Regions from separate parts of the Homo sapiens genome. Here region 1 is linked to region 2. Evidence: promoter capture Hi-C in 16 types of primary human blood cells and fetal thymus (Javierre and others, 2016). All regions are on one chromosome and are shown on one strand. The core of a region is centred on a gene start or on the middle of the fragment in contact, and the rest is flanking DNA. Distances in the headings are between cores, read along the strand shown. Region 1 holds the start of CCNL1 (cyclin L1). Region 2 holds the start of RNF13 (ring finger protein 13).

Evidence for each region. Contacts are between HindIII fragments. The CHiCAGO score rates a contact against its expected background, and 5 or more counts as called.
Region 1: a contact is called between the fragment with the promoter of CCNL1 here and the fragment with the promoter of RNF13 in region 2, in 1 of 17 cell types (neutrophils). The highest score is 5.1, in neutrophils.

What each region holds. Positions count from the first base shown.
Region 1 is chr3:157,155,752-157,162,348 of GRCh38, forward strand. It overlaps CCNL1 (cyclin L1), which reads right to left and starts at 4,396. Exons shown (of 11, transcript NM_020307.4): 1 at 4,041-4,396; 2 at 3,654-3,728; 3 at 3,115-3,224. The coding sequence starts at 4,343. RefSeq lists enhancers at 3,608-3,677, 4,311-5,040, 5,128-5,177, 5,198-5,257 and a silencer at 3,818-4,027. The HindIII fragment of the contact is 11,903 bases long and covers 1,134-6,597 here.
Region 2 is chr3:149,810,584-149,817,193 of GRCh38, forward strand. RNF13 (ring finger protein 13) reads left to right here and starts at 2,632. Exons shown (of 10, transcript NM_183381.3): 1 at 2,632-2,770. RefSeq lists enhancers at 1,989-2,500, 2,366-2,475 and a silencer at 2,006-2,155. The HindIII fragment of the contact is 6,716 bases long and covers 1-3,978 here.

The DNA of each region.
Region 1 (6,597 bases), core at 3,146-5,645, 7.3 Mb after region 2:
ATTAAGGCCTGCTAGAATTTCTTCCTCCCCAATCAGGTAAACTTTCTTTGCCAATAAAGTTTGAGGAGGTGGCATTTGAAAATCTCTTTAAAAAAGAAGTCTTCATCTATTCAGAGAAAACTCAAAAATAATTTTCATTATCAACACACAAACTAACTCAATCTCTGCTTTAAGTTTCTATTGTCCAATTTTTCTGATTTATACGAGAATTATTTTCAGCTTTAGAAAATCCTGGTCTTTGGTCATTAGAAGTTTATTATTATGGTTTGTTAGAGGAGCTATTTTCCTTTAGCATGATTATGTAATTGACATATAACTCAACAACAACAAAAATTACAAAGTCCAAACATGGTTAGTTTCATTTATGTGTTACAAAGACTGAGAAATATTGGAACCAAGTCTTCAAGAGACTATAACAGATTGGTAGTTTACAAAGAGGCATACTGCCAAGCAATATACAAAAATTTGTAATGCCTACTTAAAAGTAGAAACATCCTTTATAGGTATTTAAACAAACTGAAGGCCACCTTGTAGAGCCACAGAATTATACTGTAGAAAGGTGGTAGACTAAATGACATCACTTAACACCCTTCCAATTCTTACCTATCCAACTTTTATTATCTATGGATACACTGAAAATACATTGTATTTACTAATGAGAATGGTTAAACCAGTCTTTGAAAATTTTAATACGCTGCATCTCAAAAGTAAATATTTGGAAACTAGAACAATGAAAAAGCAATCCCCCCTCTAAATTTAGCTGTTTATTGTCAACTTAAAAGATAATTATCGAACCACAAAAAACTGAAGGAGGAATAGGCCAAACAATCCAGGTTGGGGACTAAGCACTGGTACTTTTTAAAAAGCTCCTCTGCTAATTCTCAATGTGTAGCCAGGCTGAAGAGACCAATGACCTACAAGCAACATGAATAATGTATCTCCACTGTAATTGTCAAAGTCACACTACAATTTAAAGTTATGAATAAACTAGATTAAAACAAATAGCATCATTAAGACAAGTGATATGCTTTACCTAACCAATGTATAATACTGATAGTACTTTCTAATGACATTAACCTATGCAAAAATAAATACAAAGCTATAGTTCTAATAACTTGGACAGCAAAGACAAAAGCTTATAACAAGAAACAGGAGTTTTTCTAAATGGTTCACCAGTGGCCAACCTGTTAGTCCCCGATTCCAGTGACCTATTCTCAGAGCACTGGCTTCTCCTTGGGGATTTTCGATACTTCACTCACTGTTGCCATGACGACAGCTTCATCTCTATGTACCACTCCACATCACCCAGGCTTTGGTAAATGTAGCTGGTCGCTGTATAGTCGGTTGCAAGGGAAAAAAGAGTTGAAGTTAATAACATATACAAGTTACGTGCTTGAGTAAACTTGTAATATGCATAGAAACACTTTTACATCCTGCTTTAAAAAAAGGCTTCCATGCAATTAACAACTCCTTTTAAATTTTGCTATAATCAGACTTCTAAGATTGAAACAAAATCAGTTTCTCTGTAATAATGACCCAAAAAACAAAGTTACATCAGACACAACAATCAGGTGAGATTATATTATTTTAAATTCCATGGTTTTTACAGTTAAGACCTATTCTAACATCAACGAAGTAAACTAGTCTCACAGGAAAATTCCACAGAAGATAATCATGTGATTACATAATAGTTGGCTCAATGGTTCAAAGAATACTAGAAAACCATTTCCTTTAAGCAAAGAGAAACCTTTGACTAAAGATAGAGCCTTGTATTAGTGTCATTACTTTAAACATCCTGAAGAATCAGCCAGGTATCTAAATACAGATTTAACCTCAGACCATACCAAAGACCAATTTGAAATCTTCCCAATTCCCAGGGACTCATCAACAAACTAAAAGATATTTTAGAATTTAAAAAGTACTCTATCCCTGGACACAGTTAAGGTGAATGAGAAAAGATGGGGGAGAAAAAGTATGTAGGAAAACTGTTGCAGACTTTTTGACTAGGATACTCTTTTTTTAAAAAAGAACTGTCTGTAGACTCACAGAATAGACTAGTCATCTTAAAGTTGCTTTAATATTTGCTTGTCTGAATAGTTCCATTACTGCCAACTTACAGATTCAGCCAATAAGGACTACTCATATAGAATACTAACAGCACTAACCAACATACCCAACCCCCAGAACAACTTATAATCCTTTTAATAACTTCCTTTCAAACTCAGTACAATTTGTCTAACATCACTACAATTCCTTAAAGAGTGAATGCAAAAACTATTCTACACCAAATATATCATTCTGCAGCATGTACTGGAAGTCACCTGTAGATGCAGGAAGTCCTGCAACAAACTTTTTGGTACTGCCTCACAGGAACACATAGGTCCACATAAAATTATGTTACCACAACACCTAGGAGATACTATTTCAGTCTCTGTATTTTCTTACAACATCAAATAAATGGCCCTATCTAAATGCAACCCAATCAATCTTACTTGTTAATTTTCTAACCCACTCACTGAGACTGTATCTAACCAAAACAAAATACCTGTTTAATCCCTTTGACTTCAAACTTCAAACTTTATCATCCTGCAGTCCTTTCAGATCCGGTATTATTCGATTTATCGTAGTTCAATGTTGAGAAGTACTCTAACAAAAGCCAACCTCAATTGATAAAGAATTAACTGGGACTTCGAGTAGAAAAACATAATCTACACAGAACTTTGCCACAATATTAACTTAAACTACAGTGTTTAAACTTCCAGCCTTCAGTCTTCCAGAGAGGGGAGAGGAAAAATAACTTACAGAATACACTCACACTTGAGCCAAATGTACTCCCTTTCTTGTTTAATCTTAAGCCACAGGCCTGGCTTCACAGCACTGTTAGGATTGTCCATAAATGCAACTGCCTCTACAAACTTTAGATAACCGGTTAATTATGTTTCTTTTTTCAAATTATTTTAAGTATCAGTGTTCCTATATGAACTTTAACACCTAAATTAAAGTCCGTTTTCTTTTGCATCCGTATTCACTTGAAAGGAAAGATGTTTTGATTTGATGACTGGTGCACGGTACAGCAGTAGCAAGAGATACTATGTTCAATAATGCCAATCTTACCTTTTTCCTCTTAACTGGCGGAGGTGGTGGAATACATTAATCACATCTCTTATTCTTCTAGGTGCTTCTTCGATTTTTGATGCAAGATTAATACAAGCCATAGCAACAATCTGAAAGAACCCATGAGCCACAAAAGCCATTGTTAGATTAAACTCACTTTGAAGAATAAAATTTAGAACACAATTGGGACAACCTTTAGTAAAATTAGAGAAGACATCTCTATGCCGTAAGTCTACCAGCTATGCTAGTACTATACTTTTTGTTGTTTAACTCATCTTAATTTTGGTTCCAGAGTCAAACTCAATCTTACAGGAGTTCTGCATTTGGTTGAAAACTGTACTTTTCGTTAAGAGGGCACTTAGGCTCGTGATCGATTTTGAACCACATTCTAAAGGTTTCCACTTCCTGGCGAGTGAGAAGTAGGTACAAAGGCCTAAACTAAACCACTCCCTTTCTGGAAAAGCTGGCTGCTGACACTACCCCTACTCTGCCCATTTCCGGATGAAGAAATCCCTTTTACCCGCCTCCGCTGTGCTTACCTCGAAACTGTGTTTGACGAAAGATTTGGAGTAGAAAAAACGATGAAACAACACCTGCCCCGTTGCCATCGCCACCTGCAGACAAGAGAGGAGAACGGAAGCGCAGGGGTCAGGCGGGCCCGCTCCAGGCGCCGCCGCCATTTTGTGCCGCCGATCGCTTCCCTTTCCCCTCCCGCCGCCGCCGCCGCTGCGAACAGCCCGCTGCCAAGTCCTCCCTCCGCCTCCGCAGCCCCCCGCCCCGGCACGCCCCGGCCGCGGCTGGGCCCCGAACGGGAAAGCCTGAAGGAACCGTCCCCACCCTCCCGGGGCACGGTGATACTGAGATGCGGCGTAGGGGACGGAGGAGAGGAGAGGAGCGCCCGGCCGGCCCGGGGCCGGAGCACTGACCTGCGGCAGCCGGAGGAGAATGCCGGCGGCCTGGATGAGCTCGCAGCCCAGGATGCGTAAGTCCGTCTCACTGGGCAGGTCGAGCCCATCCTGCATGGATGGGGTGGGCGAGAGCCTCTCCTCCGGAATCAGAGAGTGGTCGATGGTAAGTGAAACTTCCGAGTACAGGCGATCGCCGATCAGGATCCCTCCCGTCGTGGTCGTCGTCGTGGTCGTCGTCCCGGAGCTGGAGCCGCCCGCGCTTGGGGCGGCCGATGAGGCGGCTGCGGCAGCAGTAGCTGTCGAATGAGGCCCGGACGCCATAGTCTTAGCGAGCCGCACGCAAGCCCAACGCAGCCGGAACCCGAAACAAGACTAACCAGCGTTCTCGGCGCGACGGATATTCCCGTGACCGCCGGGTTCTGGGCCGCTTCACGCCGCGTGCGCTTCCGCCCTGACGTCACCACGCCGGGCAGCCGCGCGCCAACTAGTCCCTCCAGGCCGCGCCTCCGCCCTCGGCATCTGGGCCTGCGAGGGGAGTGTTGGGTGCTGCGACAGACCTTGGGATCCTCAGAGGCTGAGGAGGCCTTCTCTAGCCAAGGCCGGTCGAAACCACCTTGTTTGTGATAGCCACACGAATAACGGAGCTTTACAAGATCCCTTATACCCAAAATAGAGGTGGCAGCATTGGCTAGCATCTCTGCGCCCCTTCGCCCTGCATTCCGGCCTCTTCCTTTAGCCTCGGCGCGGCTTGCGTTCCGCGTGTACCAAGGGAAGTGGCGGCCGACCTGAGCGCGCTTTGGCGGGTGGAAGTGGTGACTTTGTTGTCCTGTGTGGACGAATGTGTAATATAAAGTGACCCTCAAGGAATCTGGAGAGGGCTGCTTTACAGTATTTGAAGAACACAGGGCTGTGGACCCTATCGGTTCCCAAATGAAAGCTCCCCGGGGAGCGTGTTTTTGCCAGTATGGGGAAGTAGGGCGGAGGCATAGGAATGACCGCGAGAGTGGCTGCTTTCATAGCTCCGCTTGCGAAACTCCTGCCCGGCCTTTGACACCGCCACGGCTTTCAGTAATCTGGAAAATCCCTAGTTTCCAAAAATAGTCTTAGGGCGAGGACTTGACAGAGGTAATTTGATTATGCCTGGGAGTCTCTATTCATACATGGTTACCTACCGCGGGTAGGGTGAGGTCAACCTCGTGTTTTTTGTTTTTTTTCCTGTGATATTAGCTAGCAATTTCCAGCGTTTCCTGAACCTTGAAGTAAAAACAATGATACTGATCTAAACTACTAGAATCTAGGTTGGAAGGAAAGGAATGCATCACGTTTTACTCTTGACGCTCAGAAAGCGATACCCCAAAGACAGAGGCTTTAGAAGCTGCCTCATAATGCAGGTCCCCCAACCTTGACTTGTTGCTCCCACTTTTCCCAAGTGCAGGGAGGTACTCTCTGAAATTTCCTTTCCTGACTAGAGAAGCCTCTTTGTAGAAGAATCAATCGCATTCCTCCCCTCGCTGAAATCTCGTATCCTATTTCAAAAAGACTCAGAAATGCAGCCATTCCTGGAGGGACTTTTTCACAAGATTACTCAAAAGAAAATTATTTACTAATTTCTGTCCATTCATTGTTCCTAATAATCATTTGCTGCTCCTCAAAATAAATGTCTACATTTCTCATCTACCCTTTCCCCTATGAAAAAAAGATATAAAATCTTCTGTACTCCATTAAGCTACTGGGTAATCATCCTCCTGCTTTTACCCCGGTGTTATGTATCCCTTTTCTCCTGTTAATCGCCTGTTATCAGTTGATTTTTTTTTTCTTTTTTTTTAGATAGAGTCTCACTCTGTCGCCCAAGCTGAAGTGCAGTGGCGCGATCTCGGCTCACTGCAGCCTCCGCCTCCGGGGTTCAAGCGATTCTCCCACCTCAGCCTCCCCAGTAGCTGGGATTACAGGCACACACCACCACGTCCAGCTAATTTTTGTATTTTTGTAGAGACGGGGTTTTGCCATGTTGGCTAGGCTGGTCTTGAACTCCTGACCTCAGGTGATCCGCCCGCCTCGGCCTCCCAAAATGCTGGGATTACAGGCATCCAAAGCGCTGGAATTACAGGCATGAGCCACCGCACCCGGCCTTATCAGTTGATTAAGTGAACCTTCAGTGGGCAAAGTTGTTTTAAAATGTACTGATACTTGAGCCTTGCCTGCAGAGGTTGATGTCACTGATTTAAGGTGGGCCCAGCCAGTGGTTCAGTTTTGCCTGTCTTCGAGTGATTGGAATGTACAGCCAAGAGAGTGTAATTATGGTGCTGGCAGAAGTATTAACCTATCTGGATGTCACTGTCTTCACTTTCTGACTAGGCTGCTTCCAGGGAATCTTTCCACCTCAATATTTATGAGATATCTATAATTTTATAACAAACTTTTAAAGGAGCCTCGGTTTCCTTAAACACAATTGATGACACCAGTTTTCTGGTTTTCTTCCATTTTTGTTTATAGAGCCAGGGTCTCACTGTGTTGCCCAGGCTGGCCTTGAACTCCTGAACTCAAGGGATCTTCCCACCTCAGCCACCTGAGTAGC
Region 2 (6,610 bases), core at 1,382-3,881:
CTACAATTACTTTTACGTGCTATCTGTTTGTACTTTTTAGGAAGGTTTAAAAAAAAAACCTGTTAGATACAACACCCTAAAAGCACATTTTGATTTTTAAAAAGATAATTAGTGGTATATTAGTATCACGTGCCTTATTAACCCTTCATGTTCTTGAAAATTGTAATTATGATATCTGTCAATCTTACTGTCTAATCTGCTTTAGAAAGATTAATACATTTTTCCAATATATTTTTTTCCAATTTACCTTTTTCAGCACAGGTTGGGAGAGTAAATGTTTTTGCAGAGTGTAGCCTAAATGCAGTACAAATGACACATTACCTTGTTCATAGTTGAGAGAACTATACCTATTGTTATCTGAAGAGCAGGTTGAAACCAGAAGTAAAATATTCTGTACTCAAGGTGCCTTTAAGGAATAAGCAAAGCTCTTTGTCTGAGCGTGGTGACTCATGCCTGTAATCCTAGCACTTTGGGAGACCGAGGCAAGAAGATCCTTTGAGGCCAGGAGTTTGAGACCTGCCTGGGCAACATAGCCAGACTGTAAGGCTAAAAAAAATAAAAAAATTAGCCAGGCCTGGTGGCACATGCCTGTAATCCTAGCTACTCCAGAGGTTGAGGTGGGAGGATTACTTGAGCCCAGGAGTTCTGGACTGCAGTGAGACATGATCTCACCACTGCACTCCAGCCTGGGCAACAGAGTGAGACCTTGTCTCTAAAATAAATAAAAATAAAACAACAAAACCCAAAGCTCCTCTCTGTGGACTTAATTTTTTTTTTTTTTTTTGGAGATGGAATCTTGCTCTGTTGCCTATGCCCGAGTGCAGTGGTGGGATCTCAGCTCACTGTAACCTCTGCCTCCCATGTTCAAGCGATTCTCCTGCCTCAGCTTCCCAAGTAGCTGGGATTACAGGTGTGCACCACAATGCCCGGCTAATTTTGTATTTTTAGTAGAGACGAGGTTTCACCATGTTGGCCAGTGTGGTCTTGAACTCCTGACCTCAAGTGATCCGCCTGACTTGGCCTCCCAAAGTGCTGGGATTACAGGCATGAGCCACCGCACCCGGCCTAAAAAAATTTATTTTGATGTTATGCAAGAAATCTGATTTAATATACCAATTTGGGATAATTTAATGAAAAAAATGCTTATAGAGATATTATAAATGTGTTTATACTAATTAGTCTTCTTAGTAATATTCCCAATGCTGACTTTTATTTATGACTTTCTTAAAGGCAGAATTGTGATTTAAGTATTGAATGTCTTTGCAACCAATGAAAAGTTAAGACTACATAGAATACTCATAGGATACACAGAAGAGGAAAGTACCTTTGATAGCTTTTATTTAATTTTTTAAAATTTGATCTTAAATTTCTTGTATTTGAATTTTATTTGAGTAGGTAATATTTGCAAGGTTCAAAATTCAAAAGGCACAAAAGGATACACAATAAGGAAAGAGTCTTTTCCCCATTGCTGTGTCCCACCTACTCAGGGCTCTCCAAGCAATCAAAGTGACAAGTTACATCCAATGGTATTCTACTAATACTCTGTGTGATAGCCTCCTCGCCACCATTTTTAAAAGATGATGTTGAAGGAGTTGAAGCCTGTAAAGGCCTTATTAAGGGTGCCTTATTATTTGAAGCAGAAGTAGTGCCTGATTCTATGTCTCCTGACATTTCTTTCAGGACTCTGTAATATTTGCCTAAGTCACACTGCTTTTGTAAGGTGGCGAGTTGGCAATGATTAATCAATGTGGATGGTACAATCCGGTAATTTAAGTTTCGACTGGTTTAAGATTGAGACAACCAGAAAGGAAGGCTTATCAGAAGGGCGGCAGGGGAGGAGATTTTTGGTTCATCAAAAGGAGGCAAGGGTTTTAAAAGGCTGACCTAGGGCCTGAATCACATGGTTTGACTTTTGCTAAGCCCCGGGGATGGCGCGTGTCAGGCCCAGAGTGCTGATGCCAGCGTGGATCCGAGCCAGGCCTCAGGGGACTGGCGTTCAGACCTCGGGCCGCTCGCATCTCTAACAATTTGAGCCCTACTTTAAGGTGTGGCCACGGTCCCCACCCACTCTGATCTCAGACTGGGCACGGTACGGAAGGCGGGCGGATGAGGCCTCGCCCTCGCCTCTTTAGTAGGTCGGGTGAGTGTAGTGTGCAGGGAAGAGACGCGTCAGCGCCAGGGCCAGGCCCGCCCGGGGGCAGCCCGGCAGCCGAATCTTGGGCTACTCTGTCCCAACAGCCGGAGCAGATCAGACCGACCGGCCCTGCCCGCTCGGTCCCGCGCCCTCCAGACCCTACGGTCTCCGTTTCTAGGGGCACATGGTTAGCGGCAGGCGCCCACAGCCAATCCACTTTGCCAGCCTGCCCCTTCCTCTGCCAAGAGCAGCTTCTTCAGCCGCGCTCCAGTTCCGCAGACGCCTGCCCCACCCTGCTCTTCCCTTCCAGGGAAGACGGATCACGCGGCCAAGAACGAGACTCGCAAACTGGGCATTTCTCCGAGCCGGGCTAGAGCAAGTAGCGAGACTCCGCGTGAGAGTGGGAAAGAGCCTTAACAGGCAACCATGTTGCCCAGTGGGTTTTCTGTGCCTTTGGGTGCGGACCAATGAGGCGCGTGGGGCGGGACTTCCGCTTCGCCTAGGTGTTGTCGTCCCTGCTAGTACTCCGGGCTGTGGGGGTCGGTGCGGATATTCAGTCATGAAATCAGGGTAGGGACTTCTCCCGCAGCGACGCGGCTGGCAAGACTGTTTGTGTTGCGGGGGCCGGACTTCAAGGTAAGACCCTGTCCGGCTTCGCGGCAGCCGGGCAGCTCGTTATCGAGCGGCCCAGAGAACATACCCCGCTTGTTGGCCCTCGAGCTCGGAGTCGGCCCTGCTGCTGAGGTCTTTGCTGCTCCTCTAGAGCTGGGTGAGAAGTCAATTAGGCTTTTTGCAAAAGGAATAAAATAGCCTTGCCCTCGGGGGACCGAGTCTCCCCTGCACTCTCATTCCGCGAGTTTGTGTGTGTCCAAAGTTGAGTTACCGGTTTTGCTTCTCTCATTCCCTTCTTGAGGCTGCAAGAGCCTGCCTGGAAAACATGTTTGGAAGGCTTTTCTTGGTCAAGTACCTGCCGCAACGTCCTCGGGCACATCGCTTGACTTTAGTTGAGGGGGCTGTTTTGTCTCTGAATAGAAGGAGGGCAGTCACTTCCTCTCTTTTACCCCCACCCCCTTTTTCTTTCCCTGGAAGCTCAGATTGCAGGTTTGGGACTTAACCCCTGCTAGGGCCAGATACTACGGTCAGTCAGCAGCTCTGCCTGTATGCTTGACTTGACTTGACTTGCACTTATTAAATAACTTTGTCCCAGAGAGAAAGAGAGAGTGGGCAGACATCGAAGCCAAACAGCAGTATCCCGGAAGCACTCATGCAACTTTGGTGGCGGCCACTCAGTTTTCTCTGCCAGTGTCTGGTAAATTCCTCTATTTTGTCCTAATCTGACAATAGTAAATAGTAAATTTCCAAAACTGTCGTTTCATCATCAGTTTCAGCACCGTGGGCAGCTGCTCGGGTCCTCTCTTGTTGCCCCAAACCTGCCCGGCTATTACTGTTCGTCAGTGATGCAGCAGAAACAGTGAAAACTGATGCATTCCTTTCAACAATGATGTGTTTGTTCTCCAAGGAGAACATCTGCAGTTTTTGATACAATATAAATAAGTAAGGTGGCTGTGCCTCCAAAGAGTTCTTCTGGAGAAACAGATCAATTCAAGATTTAAGGTAGGGCTTTCAAGAGTTTATGCTATTTAAGCACAGTTTTTTAATGGGTGGACATTAGCTCCATCTCGAAGTAACAAAACTGGACAGTGATAGCAATTAAAAAGAACTTTAAACAGGAGGTAAGAAGTGTAGTGCAGTGCTGTAGTGCAGGAAGTGTAGTGCAGTGCTGTAGTGCAGGGCCCATAAGGATTCATTAATAGATTTTAGAATCAATTTAGTACATTGACATAAGCTTTATAAAGAAAGAAAAAATACCAGAGGACATTGTATGGAATAAAAGTAAATATTATGGCAAGAAGCTTTTGTTTCAGTTTTTAACAGTATGTGTGTGTCAAGAGGAAGATGGAAATGTAAAGTGTATTATGGATTATGGCAAAAACAAATGTTTCAAAATACTAAATTCCAAATTTGGGAGTCAAGCTGGGTTCAGCTCTGCCATTTACTAATTCTGTGACATTTTCCGTAAATAAGAAATGAGTTGTTATGAGGATTAAATGAAACAAAATTTGTCTATTACATAATTTTTTTTTGTTTTGTTGGAAACTGTTGGAGAGAGGCACAGTTATTTTTCTCTATGTAGGGAATGAGAACTGTTTTATTAGTTTTTTTTTTTTTAACCTCTGCCTTTGTTTGAAGCTAGGCAGCTTGACATCTTGTCTCTATGTGTAATGCAAATCATAGACAGAATCTTGGTTTGAGAGGTATAATACTGAAGGGTTTGGGATAAGTTCTCATCTATGCTTGTATAAAGCTAATTTTCTCAATAATTTTGGAGGGGCATAAATTGTTGCTAGCATTCAGCTTTCTTCCCTTGATATTTTTCTGCATTCCAGAATAACGTAGATTTATCAGAACTTTTACAGGCACTAACTTTAGCTAAGTGAGGGTAGGCCTGAGGGTATGACTAAAGGGATAGATTTATGTCTTTGAGTTAAGTTGGCTAGGAAGGCATTTTATGCCTTATAGTTCTTGCCATAAGAGATGTATGAAATGAAATAGTTTGGTCAACTATCATGGTATGTTTTGCTTACTTCATGTAGGTGTGACCTAGAAATGGTTGGCATTTAAATAACAATATTTTTAAATCTGGGAATTGATGTTTAGCAGGAGGCAAATGAGTTTCAGTCAAAACAGTGTTTTGCACCATTTGTCATGTTTACCATATGGCATTGCATATGATAGTTTCACATGACATAAAAAGGGGAAGAAAGTTGGTAAGCATTGTTACTTTTCCCAAAAGAGGAAACAAAATTAGAAGCGAATTCCTTTTAATAAAGCATACTGGTGAGTCATTGTTCAAAAATGTATGTATTCTATAGATATTTATTGAGCATATATAAAAGTAAAATATTAAACTTTTATGAATCTTTTACATTACACAAAAGTTGATTTGGGAACAACACAGCATATGATTGGTATTGTCAAAGTTTATATAGCATAGTATATCAACAACAACAAAACAGTAATGTAGCTAATATTGATTGGTTAATATGAGCCAAATACAATTCTAAGTGCTTTATAATATCTCAGGTGGTTCTTACAGTCATTGATGTGGTAGATAGTAAGTTGTTTCCTTTTTATTTTTTTTTGGGACAGGGTCTTGCTCTGTTGCCCAGGCTGGAGCAATTATGGCTCACTGCACCCTCGACCTCCCGTGCTCAAGGGATCCTCCTATCTTAGCCCGACAAGTAGCTGGGACTACAGTCATAAACCCCCATGCCTGGCTAATTAAATTTTTTTTTTTTTTTTGTAGAGACAAGGTCTCATTATGTTGCTCAGTCTGGTATGAAACTTTAGGGTTCAAGTCATCCACCTGCTTCAGCCTTCCAAAATGCTGGGATTACAGGTGTGATACATCATGCCTGTCTTATCCCCATTTTCTAAGTGGGAAGTGGGGGAATTAAGGCATCACAGATACATAACTTCTGAGTTCACACAAGTAGCTGGTGGAGTAGCTGGAATTTGATCACAGGTATTCTGACTACAGAACGTCTGTCTCTTTTGTGTCTTATTTCATTAAAAAATATGGAATGCTGTGGGGCTATTGTGGATTCGTACTTGCTGGTGACCTTGGGGAAGCTCCTCCTCAATTTCCTTAACTCCTTCCTTACTTGTTTTTGTGGGGATTCAGATAATTTGTGAAGCAATCAGATGGCGTATATGTTTAGTAAATTATATGCCTTAGCCTTTTTTTTTTTTTCATTGAGGATGAGGTCATTTGAAAGATTGTTAGCAGTTGAAGGAGGGTGGAAAAAAAAAAGTTCCACATAAGGACACTGCCCAAGCAAAGGTATAGAGATAGGAAAAGCAGAATACATTTGGTAAGGATATATGTTTAAGGACCAGACTGGTAAAGATAGATGGATACAGATTATGGAGATTCTTAAATGTCAGACTAAAGATTTTATATATGATTTTTAGTTAAGAAGAAACTCTCTTTATGGATAATAATTTGTGAACAGGTCCAATGGAAGAGTGGAAGCCTAGAAGTAGGAATACCATGCAATTTAATTATAGTAGTTGAGGCAAGAAGTGATGATCGTAGTGAAGGTATAGATTTGAAAGATGTTGACATTATAATGACATTGACACTGGGAACTGACCAGAGTATAGGCCTAGGACAAATTTTTGGGAGGATAGTGATGTTATTAACAGAAATAAGGATATTATCATGAAGAACAGGTTTTGGTGGAAGGAGATTTAGGAGGAGAGAGGATGATAGGGAGTTTACTTTTGGAGCTGAGGAGTTGTTCAGACGTTTGGAAATGTAGAATGAAAACTGGAAGTTCTGTGTATTCTATGAAAAGGGAAGAGAACAAATGCTTACATTGTAAGGAAATGACCTAAAAGTAACCACTCCTC